Regions from separate parts of the Homo sapiens genome. Here regions 2, 3, 4 and 5 are each linked to region 1. The links are contacts of gene promoters, found by promoter capture Hi-C in blood cells and fetal thymus (Javierre and others, 2016). All regions are on one chromosome and are shown on one strand. Each heading gives the region's core, a stretch centred on a gene start or on the middle of the fragment in contact. The rest is flanking DNA. Distances are from core to core; before and after follow the strand shown.

Region 1 (2,573 bases), core at 20-2,519:
TAGCTATTTCAGTATAGGGTTTTATGATTTTCTCTTAAGGAATTTCAGAGTATGTGTCATTGTTTCAAGATTTTCTATTTACTACTTTAAAAATGGAAATAATAGGTCTTTGGTACCTTCTTGAAGGTCATATGCCACAAAGAATGCAAAAATACATGAAAGTCCTTAGTATTTGTTGTTATGGTCATTTTTTAGAGCTAATTTTATTTTTAATCATTAGCGGTTGCTTCGTTTGGAGTTCTGTTTTTATAACAATGATAGATAATATCTGCATCATATTATTGATGTAAAAAAAATCTACCTTTGAAATGAATTAGGGATGTACCATACTTTTGAATGTTTGTCATCAAACAACATTTAGCATAAACTGCATCTAGTGGCCATTGCTCTGTAATATGTAAAGACTTGTCGGTACTTTGTCCTGCTAATTAATTTGAGGATTTAGATTGTAAGCTCTGTGAGGGCAGAAAGTAATATTTTTCTCATTTTTGTAATCTTTTCTATTATTGTCTGCATAGCATAGTACTTTACACTGTATCAGAAATTGAGTATTTTGGTTTAGGCTTCTATGGTAATAGAGGTTAAGAAAGGAAATTTGGTAGACCTTTAACATTTGCTGGATTTTGACATTTTTGATTTTTGACTGAAGTCTTCAAGTTCTGTTACATGACACAAGAATGTGAAATGATTTTTTCTTTTTTTGGGAAAAGCTGGTTTTTTGTGTGCTTTATATAATTTAAAGAAAAGACTTGTTATGAAATAGTTTCAGTCATTTTCTGAATTATTGTTGAAATTAGTACAGGGTAGATTCACATGGTCAGAAAGTGTCACTTAAAGTTTTCACCTTTAGCTTATGTGGTTGATATTTATCTAATTAGAAATTAAGACCCAGAAATTTAAAAAATTCAAGCACATATTCCATTAGCTGCCAGAGCAATGTCACCACACATCCTGTAGCTTCTAGAAAACCATGTAACATATACTCATGAGGGAATGAGAGCAAGGGGAAAAGGCAAAATGTGAAACATAAGGATATATAATGTCTTAGTATAATAATGAAATAATTTTGACTTCATGTATTCCCTGAAGAGTCCACACTGTGATAACTGCTGCTTTATATTGTTATGATTACTCACAGACAGAAGCTATGTGGAAGAGAAGCAAAAAAGTAAAGGAGTAGAATAGACAGCGGAGCATGTTTTAAAATGTAAAATATAGAGTACCTGTAAAATGTAGTAGTATTTTCTTCTTATAGTAGTATTTACAGCCCTGAGAGAGAAGATTGAATTAATTACAACTTGAACACTTGACCATTTCTACTGCTGTATTTTTTGTGAAAAACGAAAATTCAAATGTTTGTTTTATTATTTCCCACTATTTTTTTTTTTTTTTGTATATGGCTTAATATGTGCCACACTTAGGTAGTATGGTAAAGATGTAAAGGTACCTAGGCTTTGGATCTAAACAGACCTATACTCAAATCTCAGTTCTTGTTAGGGCTTGTACCTTGGGCAAGTTACTAATCTTTTTTCTCACCATTAAAATGAGAATTGTGTTTAGAAGTTTGTTATGAGGACTAACTATTTATGTAAAATTCTAGATACAATGCATTTGTCCAACCCCAAGTTCACAAAAGTCTGGTCATCCCCTTTTTGTAATTATAATTTGACTCTCATGTGCTTTTATTCAAATGAGAGAGAAACATAACTTTTCATCATAGCAACAAACTTAAAATAATGTCTTTTACTTATTATTGCTTGGAATCATCAATTATTTATGCTTTTTTCCTAGTCAAAGTAAACAAGTATGGAGATACTTGGGATGAGTGAAAAATTACATCATTGGACATGAAGGAGTTTCAACATCCAGCTTCATCTAGGTGGTCATGATTACCTGCATGCTTTGAGCTCAGCAGCAGTCTTCATAAACACATTTAAAACAAGATCCTGGGTTTTTGTGGTTTGACTTCTATGGTGTTTTAAAAAAACACAGATTTTTAGTGTTAATATTGTGTAAATGTACTCACCTTAGGGATTCATTTGAATGATGGTATTATACCATGATTGTATACAGTTTGTGAAATTGTTGCAAGGGCAAAGATAACTCTTAAAAAACCGTCGAGATTACAATGCTCTAGAATCAGCATATAAGAAAATAAATGATATCTGCATGTTGAATTGGGGTGGATGGGGGGAGCAAGCATAATTTTTAAGTGTGAAGCTTTGCATCAAGAAATTATTAAAAAGCTTTTTTTCTCCAGTATTTTCTGTATTATCTTAATGTTTATGGCAAATAAAATGTAAAGGAACATGCAACAGCCCTCATCTTCCTTGATTTTATGGTTTTATTGTTTGTAATTTATTGATTTATTTTTAAGCTAGTTATAATCATGTAGGTATAGGAAATAAAGTCATCTATAATATTTCTATAATATGGCTATAATATGGCTATAAATCTATAATATGGCTGGAGGCAGTGGGCAGTGGTTCATGCCTGTAATCCCAGCACTTTGGGAGGCCGAAGTGGGAGGATTGCATGAGTCCAGGAGTTTGAGACCAGCCTGGGCAACAAAG
Region 2 (2,573 bases), core at 35-2,534, 350 kb before region 1:
GTCCAAGTATACTAATAAATTTGAAAATAATTTCAGTTGATTATTTATTTAATGGCTTATTTTTATACTGTGTACCTAATGATACAGCCTTTTGGGGGGCACTATTCAAAATATTGCTGATTTTTATTCTGTTAAAAGACAAACCCCAACCATATAGTCCTGTGGCTGCACACTGGCCTGAGAGATACAGGTCCACACCTTTCCAGCCAGAGCATACAAGACATGGTAGTTTGTGCTCAGAACACCCTCCAGTTCACATCTAATCAATCAGTCTTCCTGTCACGGCATTTTCTTTATTCAAGGTTCAAATGAAGGTTAAAATTTTTAACTGTCGAGGTTCTACTTCTGGGTGTGATGGAGTAGCCTGTATAAAAGAAAGAAAGACCAATCCTGCAAGGACAATGATGGAAGCTGAATCCTATCGGCCAAAACTCACTCAAACAAACAGTTAGTTAGTTAGAGAAAAGTACCGGAGTGAGCCCAATACCCGCCCCAGTGCTTACTCTACTCTAGGTGTATTCATATTCACGTCCCTGCGCATAGAGGCTGAACAGAAAGCAGTGGCCTAGAGTTTATGCCCTACAGTTTCACTGGGCTGGGAAAACAGTTTTCAAAGATAGATAGATGATAGATAGATAGATAGATAGATCGTGAGATATTGAGGGCCAATATCCTGGAGAAAAGAGAACTGCAGAGAAGTGACCCCAATAGTCTCTGTGCAGTCTCGCCTTAGAACACTTGCTGTTCCTGTTTATTATCTGCAGGGGGAGAGGCTACAAAACCACACAGCAGCCCCTGGGAGACTGAGAAGGTCGGCAGAGACCGCTGGTCTCACATTGCTGGGGAGAGAAAAATAATTCAATTCACCTGTGAGCCTTAGCAGTCTTGAATAATAATAAAAAGAATGTATAACTCAAAAATGAATGGGAAAATTAAATAGGGCAGACAGTAAATATTTTAGGCTTTGCAAAACATATAGTCTTTGTAACTATTTAATTGTTACAGTGCAAACATAGCCATGGACAATATGTAAGTAAACCAGATAGCTGTTTTCTACTAATTTTATTTACAAAAATAGGCAGTGGGCCAGATATAACTTGACAGCTGTAGTTTGCTAACCTGTGTTCAAGAAGTTTGTAAGCATTATTAGTTGTTTGAATTTCCATATAAATTTTAGAATCAGCTTGTCAATTTCCATTAATATACCATCTGAGATTTTGAATGAGACTGCATTAAACCTATAGACCATTTTGGGGGAAAATGACATCTTTACCATATTGAGTCTTCTAATTGATAAACATGGTATATAGTCCTCCATTTAGGTGGTCTTTAATTTTTCTCAATATTTGCAGTTTTCTGTATAGAGGTACAGCATATCTTTAGACAGATTTATTTGTAGGTATTTGATATTTTCCTATTATAAATGGTATCTATTGCTTTAAAACCAACCACCCTAAAACTTAATGGCTTCAAACAACCAAAATGAATCTATGTGCTGGCTGGGAGTTTCTTCTGGTCTTGCCTAGGGTCACTCATGAGTCTACAGTCATTGATGGCTTGACTGGGGAAGCGGCAGGGTTGAAGTTCCAAGTTGGCTTCACTCATATGTCTTGCACACTGACTGTCAATGGAACGCCTCTGTTCTCCCCTACATGGCCTCATCTTCCAGCAGGCTAGAGGTCAAATAGTTTCCCAGAGTTTACCCCAGTTTGCACTCCGACCAGTATGATGGCAAAAGCAGACACCACAAAAGACCACTTCAGGACTAGTCTTGGAAGTTACACAGCGTTGCTTCTGAACTTGATTGGTTAGAGCAAATCACAAGGCCATCCCAAATTTAAGAGATGGTGAAATGGACTCTGTCTCTTCATGGGAAGAACAGCAAAGTCACATTGCAAAGGGGTGTGGCGACAAGAGAAGCATGATTCATTGGGACCAGTATTTTAACAATCTACCTTTGCTTCTAGTAGGCAATGATTTCTGAAGATACAAAAACCATAACCATGATGGAAAAGGCTGATAACCTGGACTTATTAAAATTAAAAACTTCTGTTCATCAAAAAATGCTACTAAGATAGCAAAACTGCTAGCTACAGAGAAGGAATAATCTTCGCAATACATACATCCAAAAAAGGGCTTGCATTTAGGATAAAGAGCCCCTACAAATCAGTAAGAAAAACCCAATCGATTTACAAAAATGAGCAATGTACTTGAAGCTACAATTCACAAAATATCTTAAATGAAGAGATCCATTTGAAAAGGGGCTCAAATATTAGTCATCAGGGAAATGCAAAATAGTACCATGAGATACCACCACACACTTCATTTTTCATAGGTCTATACATGTCACAGATATTTACTACTTATTAATGAAAGACCCATCTAGAAAAATAATTACCTACTGTATGCAGTTTGTGTGAAAGAGAGAAATTATTTTTTGTTCTTCTGTCCCTCCCAATTGAAAATGTGCTGGATTTACTCTTAGGGAAGGAACAGAGCTACTCTGTTTTCAATGCCAGATTGGACTTGAAGAAGCCTTTCTTAGGAGGTAATTGTCTAATTCACTACATGCT
Region 3 (2,573 bases), core at 74-2,573, 330 kb before region 1:
TGTGGATTAGTGTCAAAAAAAAGTTTAAAAGCTACTGCTCTGAAAGGTGCTAAATAATACCTGTTCTTGAGTTCCTATGAACCTGTACAATTGTGTCTTTGGGAAAATGTAAATGGTGGAGTATTCCATAGGAGCCTACACAGCTCCTAAACTGACATGAAGGCATTTGCATTACTTGGAGGCACCATGGTCACATCCTCACATCTGCAGGGGGCACTGAGGCATGTTGAGGAGAGGGAACTTTACTTCCTCAAACTGGTCTTCCATGGACAATGAACAGTGTGATACGGGAGAGTGCATTACATTTCATTCCTCCGCCTCACCTATTAGAGCCAAAGGAAACACCCCTACAAGAAGAGCTGATGAATGTGTATAAGCTGTATATGAGTTGTATATGTATATGTACATGAGAGTTGATCAGTGTGTATGATCTGTATGAGTTGTATATGTATATGTATACGAGAGCTGATGAATGTGTATGAGCTGTATATGAGTTGTATATGTATATGTACATGAGAGTTGATGGATGTGTATGATCTGTATGAGTTGTATATGTATACGAGAGCTGATGAATGTGTATGAGCTGTATATGAGTAGTATATGTACATGAGAGTTGATGAATGTGTATGAGCTGTATATGAGTAGTATATGTATATATGTACATGAGTTGATGAATGTGTATGAGCTGTATATGAGTAGTATATGTATATGTACATGAGAGTTGATGAATGTGTATGAGCTGTATATGAGTTGTATATGTGTATGTATATGAGAGCTGATGAATGTGTATGAGCTGTATATTAGTAGTACATGTATATGTACATGAGAGTTGATGAATGTGTATGAGCTGTATATGAGTTGTATATGTGTATGTATATGAGCTGATGAATGTGTATGAGCTGTATATGAATAGTATATGTATATGTATATGAGAGCTAAATGTATTTGAGCTATGAGTTTTGATTCTTTAGAAAAAGATACATCAAGATATGGTATACAGATACTTGGTATTAAGGCATTTTGGTCTTCTTGCATACAGATATTTGTAGCAATTTCAAAATGTACATGTTTAAAACAAATCTATTTGATATAAACTTTCAGGGTTAAGAGACTGTGGTTTAGGGAACTGAGCTCAGCTACAGAAATGGATCTCTAATAGCCTAAGACAACCAGGGTAATCCTATTCTATTCACTAGAGTGGTTGTTTCAGAAAGTAGCATGTGTCCTAATTTGGGCCAATGAGATGTTACAAGAAGTTTGCTAAGACCATTTAGGAAAGCAGCTTCCTTACTTTTCTGAGAGCATTTCTGGATGTGACCCTCACCTCCTTCAAACACTGCTGTGTGTGGGGCTAAGATTACCCAGCAATGAAGACGGTTTTGCTGCTATCTGAGGTCAAGCTGACTGGCAGAGAAGGGGAGAGCCTAGAGAACTGCAGATAAACAGCCAGAAACTTCATTGAGCCATATCTAAATATAAGCTCTAATTCTGGACTAGTTTTGTGGGCTAATAAATCTACTTTCTGAGTTTTAAATTCCATTTAGAAAGCATCTCAACTGACATAACTACCAATATAATGTAATCCAGACTAAATCAATTTAGAAGAGAAACGCTTTGAGTATTAAATGAAACCAGGCATTTGAGAGAGTTACCTACATCATAAAGAAGAAAGTGATTTCGAATGTCAAAGAAAGAAGCTCAGTCATTTGCCAAAGGGAAGAGTTCTAGAAAGACAAACCCTTTGTGATATGTCAATTTAGTGGTAAGTGTGTATATGAGTAGTATATGTATATGTACATGAGAATTGATGAATGTGTATGAGCTGTATATGAGTAGTATATGTATATGTACATGAGAGTTGATGAATGTGCAATTTAGTGGTAAGTGCAACTCTCTTTAAAGTTGTCCTTAATCAATTCTCATATAAATTTTTACCATTTGGCTGCATATTAGTTTGTAAGACAAATCATGCAAAACATTTAAGTCTAAGCATACCCTGAAAATAATTTTGAAGGAAGCCATTTTTTAATTTTATATTTTTAAAGATAAAGATGAAAAATGGAATGTTTCTCTTTTATCTCAGACTTATTCTATTGACTAATTGTGGTAATCAAATTTAATTCCTAATTTAGATTTTTACCTTTTTGACCTTACACTGACCTCAATAAGGAATGATCCTGTGATCAAATCCTTAATTCTCATACAACTGTTCTATAAATATTAACAGAGAAAGCCCACATCCTTACCTCTGCATCTTCCAATTCAACATCTAAAAAGTCAAAATCCTTAAAAACACCAAACTGTTGTTCACTGCTATTATCTTCCACAGCTACTTCTTCCTCTTGATTTATGTCTTCTGTTGTAGAAATTAGGCTAGTCTGTTGGTCACCGACTTCCAAATCCTCATTAGAAGAAAATACAACCTGATGCCCGATTAAAAAAAAAAAAAAAGTCCATCCATCAGATTTGTCACTCTGCGTATGAGGTATCAGTACCCCAAAGCCACCGCAGGCCTCATTCTTCAATGAATTCACAGCTTAAATTTGGTCTTCATGTTTAACTAGTTGAACACA
Region 4 (2,573 bases), core at 34-2,533, 310 kb before region 1:
AAACTTTTAATCAATTATTTCTACCTAAAATAATATTCTGGCATACAAAACAGGTGGAGTAAATACCATTTATATAGGTCTAAAACTTTAAGCAATACAAAAAGTGACTTACCATATACCACCTATTTATACATTAGAGCATATAAAAAAATCTAGCAGGCTAGCATCTTTAATGTTGAAACTCTCAATGTGGAAAGTTTCCAGCATGGAAATATATTTTTTTCACTCGAATTTTAACACAGCAACATCCACATTTCAATGCAGAAAATATCATTTATTCTGATGACAACCAGTATCTGTCAAACTGAAAGGCTAATACAGAACAGAGAAGTACTTACCTCTCTTCAATATTCTCTTTAATGGGCTTATTATCAGGATTGCCATCTGTGGGAGCTACCATTGTATTGCTACTGGAAGTAGTTCCTGTAATCAAAGACAAAGCAGTACTCGTGAATCTACAAACCTGGAATAACCCAATAAGAACAAAAGATCTCAAATTATAGATATCAAAACTTAACTAAAATGAGAGCAAAGTCATTTAAAAAAAGGAATGTACTCATAATGACCAAAAGGGAAAGGACATAAGACAAACAAATTTTTGGATGCTAGAATACAAATGGACAGTAAGTAATTAAGTGTTAAGAAGGCTGAATCCAAAGGTGGTGGTGGGTGAAAACCAAGAAGCTTCCATGTTTATATTGCTGAACTTCCAAAAGGTAGCATCGAGAACCTCTGGAAACAGGGGTTGAAGGTGGTGCGAAAAAATAGGAAACCTGGCTGAAAGTCAATCTATTTTAGAAGTAACTGGTTCCCCAAATCTACTTTCTTGCCTCTTGCAGCTGGGTGGCTGTCTTTCCCCACTTCTAGAAGTCTTTTCTGATGAGAGTAAATCAGAAGATTCCTGAACTAGGGCACGCCATGTACTCCTGAAAGAGGAGGCACCTTACAAAGAACAGGGGCATTAAATGAAAATGCACATGCTAAAATTTGAGACTGCACCCCCCCCAACATCCTTCTTACCCCACTGGGCTTCCAGAAAGTTTGAAGCCTGTGTATATGTGTGTGTATAAATATAAACAGTCCAAAGGGGTGTGTGTGTGTGTGTGTGTGTGTGTGTGTGTGTGTGTGTTCAGACACACCCTCTGCAGGCAAATGACTAGAAAGAGTTTTCTCTAGGGAATCTGATAAATCTAGGAGAAAAGACCTACAGACGTTGGCATCACTGAAATCATGGTACGACAAAGCACACAGACAACAAGTTCCATATATACTTATAGAACTTATATTTTTTTTAATATTCTACTCTTTATGAAAAGACAGATCTAGAATTGGTAGGCTTTTGAGAAAAGTTTTATCAACACAAAACAGCAATGTAGAGAAAATGAGGACTTCTGCTGGGAGAAAACTTTATAACTGTATTGGATACGAAACAACAGTCCAACTATGAAACATGAATAGGATGCTACTTTAAAAAATTATAATTAAATGAAACTTTAGAATTAAAAACATTCTAGCCGATATGAAAAATTCAATAGAAGCATTATTAGACATCTCCTGGAAAATAAAACAAAAGGACTAGGTGATGAAAATGGATGGTAAAAAATAAATTATAAAGAGATAATTTAAAATATTTCTAGTTTTACAGATAATGTTATTAGCATGCTGAAAACATTTAAAGTAAACTGAGTAACAAAGAGTTTAACAGAAATTTCATCTACAATAGCCTTTTTACTATTTTGAATTTCATTGGATGTTCTTCTATTAGGAACATAGTTTCTTCATACTCAAAATATTACAATAATTTTAATATATGCACATACATATAGGTGTGTATATATATATACATTTAAAGACACAATAAACTCTTGTTTAACAATTATGTTAAGCTTCTCTTTCAATACTGAGGAAGATTTGTTTTTTTCTTTTAATAAATTTTATTGTATATATCTGAGATTCATAACATGTTATGGGACATAGAGACCCTAAAATGGTTACCATAGTGAAGCAGATGAAGATGTCTATCATCTCACACAGCAATCGGTTTTAACAAATTTCTCACCTGAGGTGACAGAAGGGATTTTATAGCTGGAAGTGATGCGATAATACGGGGGATTATCCATGTGAGTGACCCCTGAACTGACAGGATCGGTCAGCTGAAGCTCACTCACCAGCTCTTCTAGCAACTGCATTGTTTTATCTCTACCTAAATATACAATGACCTTCTTCACCTGTCACAAAAGAAATCGTTCAGAAAAGAAAAAGCAAAGTTTTTATCTCATTAATTTCTCCTGAGACAAACTTTATCAGAGTAAGTTCAACTTTAAGTGGTAGATGAATAAACACAATCTAAATCAAAATTAGCACTGATCAACAATAAGACATTAATCAGCTTTATCAATACTGTCCTCCCTCTAACTCTCAGCATTAGATCTAATTAGGGTGAACTGAGTATGTTTAGCGGTTTAGTGGTTTCCACTTTATGCACTTTCTTTACTTTAAAAAAAAAAAAAAAAAAAAACAAAAAAATACTTTTCTGTAAAAATTTCTCTTTTAATGGAAACACAGGTAATAAC
Region 5 (2,573 bases), core at 37-2,536, 270 kb before region 1:
GTAGCTTCACTTATACATTCTTTCAGTGTATTGCAATTTGCATGTATTTGATTAAATGGGCTAATGGATAATTTTATCTAGCTTTAACTACATGAGCTCTTACAAAAGTCCTTGAAAAGAAAATACAGATCCAAGAAAAGAAAATACAGATCCAAGATAATCCTAACAAAGTAAACCTAATAAATAACAACCACCTCCCCCACAGAAAAAAACCCAGCAGAACTGATTTTTTTTACTCATACCTAGTATGAGAACTTCAGGAAGAAAAAAACTTACTTTCAGAAATAAATTTATTCAATAGAGTGAATATTTTCTTAAAATGGATGTTCAAGAAAATATCTTTTGTTTCATAATTTTTGTTGCTGGAAACCATTTTTGTCGGTAGAAACCAAAAAATATATAAATAAGAGCTTTATTTTTTTCCTGTATTCCAGTGAACTACCTTCTACACCCACTGGGATACATGTACCCCCAACAAGTTAAGTATGTCAGCTATACAAACAATCATGTTTGCCCACTTCCAAAATCTGGAAATAATTATTAAACTATCTTAAAAATATTACAAATGAAAAGCTGCATTATCTTTCCAACTCATTTGTTAACCACATAAACACATACCTTAGGATTTGACTATGTATAGGATCAAGATAGTAATTTAAAATAAATAAGAAAATAAACAGATAACACCTATTTTGCCTTTTTATATCCTCAAATGTAATTAGATTCCAACAAAGAATTAATTTATGAAATATTTTGAAAAATCCTGAAAATCTAATGTCTAAAGAATGAATTAGAGTTTACTAGTGAATAATGAGACCATGGAAGCAGGATATAACATTCACTTTTTTAATGTTGATTTTTTTTGGCATGGGGGAAACAAATTTTTGTTTTTTCTATAACACCTAGAACAGTGCCTGGCACATTTCAGGTGCTCAATAAATGTTGAATGAATGAGATTTATTGAAGAACACCTTAAATATAAACAATGTGAAGTAAAAAAAAAAACAACCAAAAAAAAAAAAACCTGGGCTCATTATAACTTCCAGGAGCCAGCTGAGCTGACTAACCTGATAAAATTTTCCTTTCTTTATTCATTTTTTGAGACAGAGTTTCGCTCTTATTGCCCAGGCTGGAGTGCAATGGCTTGATCTCGACTCACCGCAACCTCTGCCTCCCAGGTTCAAGCGATTCTCCTGCCTCAGCCTCCCTAGTAGCTGGGATTACAGGCATGTGCCACCACTCCCGGCTAATTTTGTATTTTTAGGAGAGATGGGGTTTCTCCATGTTGGGGTCAGGCTGGTCTCAAACTGCCAGCCTCAGGTGATCTGCCAGCCTCAGGTGATCTGCCCGCCTCAGCCTCCCAAAGTGCTGGGATTACAGGCATGAGCCACCGTGCCCGGCCTATTTATTATTTTCTACCACGCTTAAACACCATTATTTCACTCCAGCCTGGGCAACAAGAGCAAAACTCTGTCTCAAACAAACAAACAAACAAACACTATTATTAAACCATTCGGCCAGCTATTAGAAAGGTTAAGTAACTTGTCCTGGATCACAGCTACTATTAGAAGTAGAGCTGGGATTTGAACCTAAGAGTTCTGATTCCAGAAATCATGCTCTTAAAAAAAAAATCTAGGATTTTATATTATTACATTATAATTTTTTTACCTCTGGATTAATGGTGAAAGTTTTAGTAGATTTTCCAACACTGAGAAGATCAAATATTATTTCTTTCATTGCAAAATCCAAGCGTTCCTTAAAAAAAAAAAAATCCTTATAACTTGCTACTATGTGTTAGGTATCATGCTAAGAATTATAAATATAATATACAATGACAACAAGACAGGTTTGTGCCCTTAAAAAGTTCACAGCTGAACAGAAGAAAAATACATATGAATTAAGGTCAAAATACATGATTATAAGTATATTATTTAATTATCAAATGATTTGTTTAATACCCAAACCAACAGAATAAAGTTTTAAACATTCATTCACCAAAATCATATTAAAATCAAAGTGAAAGAATTCCCAGGGTGACAATGAAAGGAAGTCCCAAGACAATAGCCAGGCAGCAGGCCTAGACAGCAGTGAGTTCATACTGGGTCAGGAAGAATGGGGCTCTAGGAAGGAAATCTCCCGGGGGGTGGGGGGAAGTTAACTAATTAGATTAACTGCTGTTTGAAAGGAGTTTTATAATTCTGGTGGAGTGCTGGAGGAAGGTAACTAATTCAAGGGAGTGGGTACAATTCTGGAAAAAAAGAAGAGATTCAACCTAATGTCACAAGTTTTTTGAACACTTGATCTAAAGCACAATTTGCTTTTATTAATCTTACTGATACCCTTATACTTATCGAATTACCATTACTTTTGTACTCTAGTAAATAACAATGTACTAATTCTATTTAAATATTCTTTATTTCTTCACTGTCAAAAATAATTGAATTATGGATCATCTAGATTGTTACAGTTTCAGTTGAAAGAGAATGCAATCAATATTCTGGAATCACAGCATTTTCCCATGTTGACGAGATAACCTTACCTATGTTTCTCCAAGATGGATGTCCCAAAAGGAA

What was found. The method cuts DNA at HindIII sites, captures the fragments that hold promoters and counts their contacts. A CHiCAGO score of 5 or more calls a contact.
Region 2: a contact is called between a fragment that was not itself captured here and the fragment with the promoter of OCIAD1-AS1 in region 1, in 4 of 17 cell types (naive CD4 T cells, activated CD4 T cells, M2 macrophages and 1 more). The highest score is 5.7, in naive CD4 T cells.
Region 3: a contact is called between a fragment that was not itself captured here and the fragment with the promoter of OCIAD1-AS1 in region 1, in 2 of 17 cell types (naive CD4 T cells and total CD4 T cells). The highest score is 6.0, in naive CD4 T cells.
Region 4: a contact is called between a fragment that was not itself captured here and the fragment with the promoter of OCIAD1-AS1 in region 1, in 14 of 17 cell types (naive CD4 T cells, erythroblasts, endothelial precursors and 11 more). The highest score is 8.3, in naive CD4 T cells.
Region 5: a contact is called between a fragment that was not itself captured here and the fragment with the promoter of OCIAD1-AS1 in region 1, in 3 of 17 cell types (activated CD4 T cells, non-activated CD4 T cells and naive CD4 T cells). The highest score is 5.6, in activated CD4 T cells.

What each region holds. Positions count from the first base shown.
Region 1 is chr4:48,858,934-48,861,506 of GRCh38, forward strand. It overlaps OCIAD1-AS1 (OCIAD1 antisense RNA 1), which reads right to left and starts at 1,270. Exons shown (of 2, transcript NR_146806.1): 1 at 1,224-1,270. It overlaps OCIAD1 (OCIA domain containing 1), which reads left to right. Exons shown (of 9, transcript NM_017830.4): 9 at 1,792-2,573. The coding sequence ends at 1,829. The HindIII fragment of the contact is 4,141 bases long and covers 1-2,218 here.
Region 2 is chr4:48,507,090-48,509,662 of GRCh38, forward strand. All of the region lies in intron 59 of FRYL (FRY like transcription coactivator), which reads right to left. Among named protein-coding and RNA genes, the nearest start is that of ZAR1, 18 kb to the left of the region's middle. The HindIII fragment of the contact is 2,913 bases long and covers 1-2,573 here.
Region 3 is chr4:48,525,231-48,527,803 of GRCh38, forward strand. FRYL (FRY like transcription coactivator) reads right to left here. Exons shown (of 64, transcript NM_015030.2): 53 at 2,247-2,423. Among named protein-coding and RNA genes, the nearest start is that of ZAR1, 36 kb to the left of the region's middle. The HindIII fragment of the contact is 5,857 bases long and covers 1-2,573 here.
Region 4 is chr4:48,551,156-48,553,728 of GRCh38, forward strand. It overlaps FRYL (FRY like transcription coactivator), which reads right to left. Exons shown (of 64, transcript NM_015030.2): 36 at 2,060-2,228; 37 at 339-423. Among named protein-coding and RNA genes, the nearest start is that of ZAR1, 62 kb to the left of the region's middle. The HindIII fragment of the contact is 1,202 bases long and covers 683-1,884 here.
Region 5 is chr4:48,592,262-48,594,834 of GRCh38, forward strand. FRYL (FRY like transcription coactivator) reads right to left here. Exons shown (of 64, transcript NM_015030.2): 16 at 1,669-1,755. Among named protein-coding and RNA genes, the nearest start is that of ZAR1, 100 kb to the left of the region's middle. The HindIII fragment of the contact is 2,813 bases long and covers 1-2,573 here.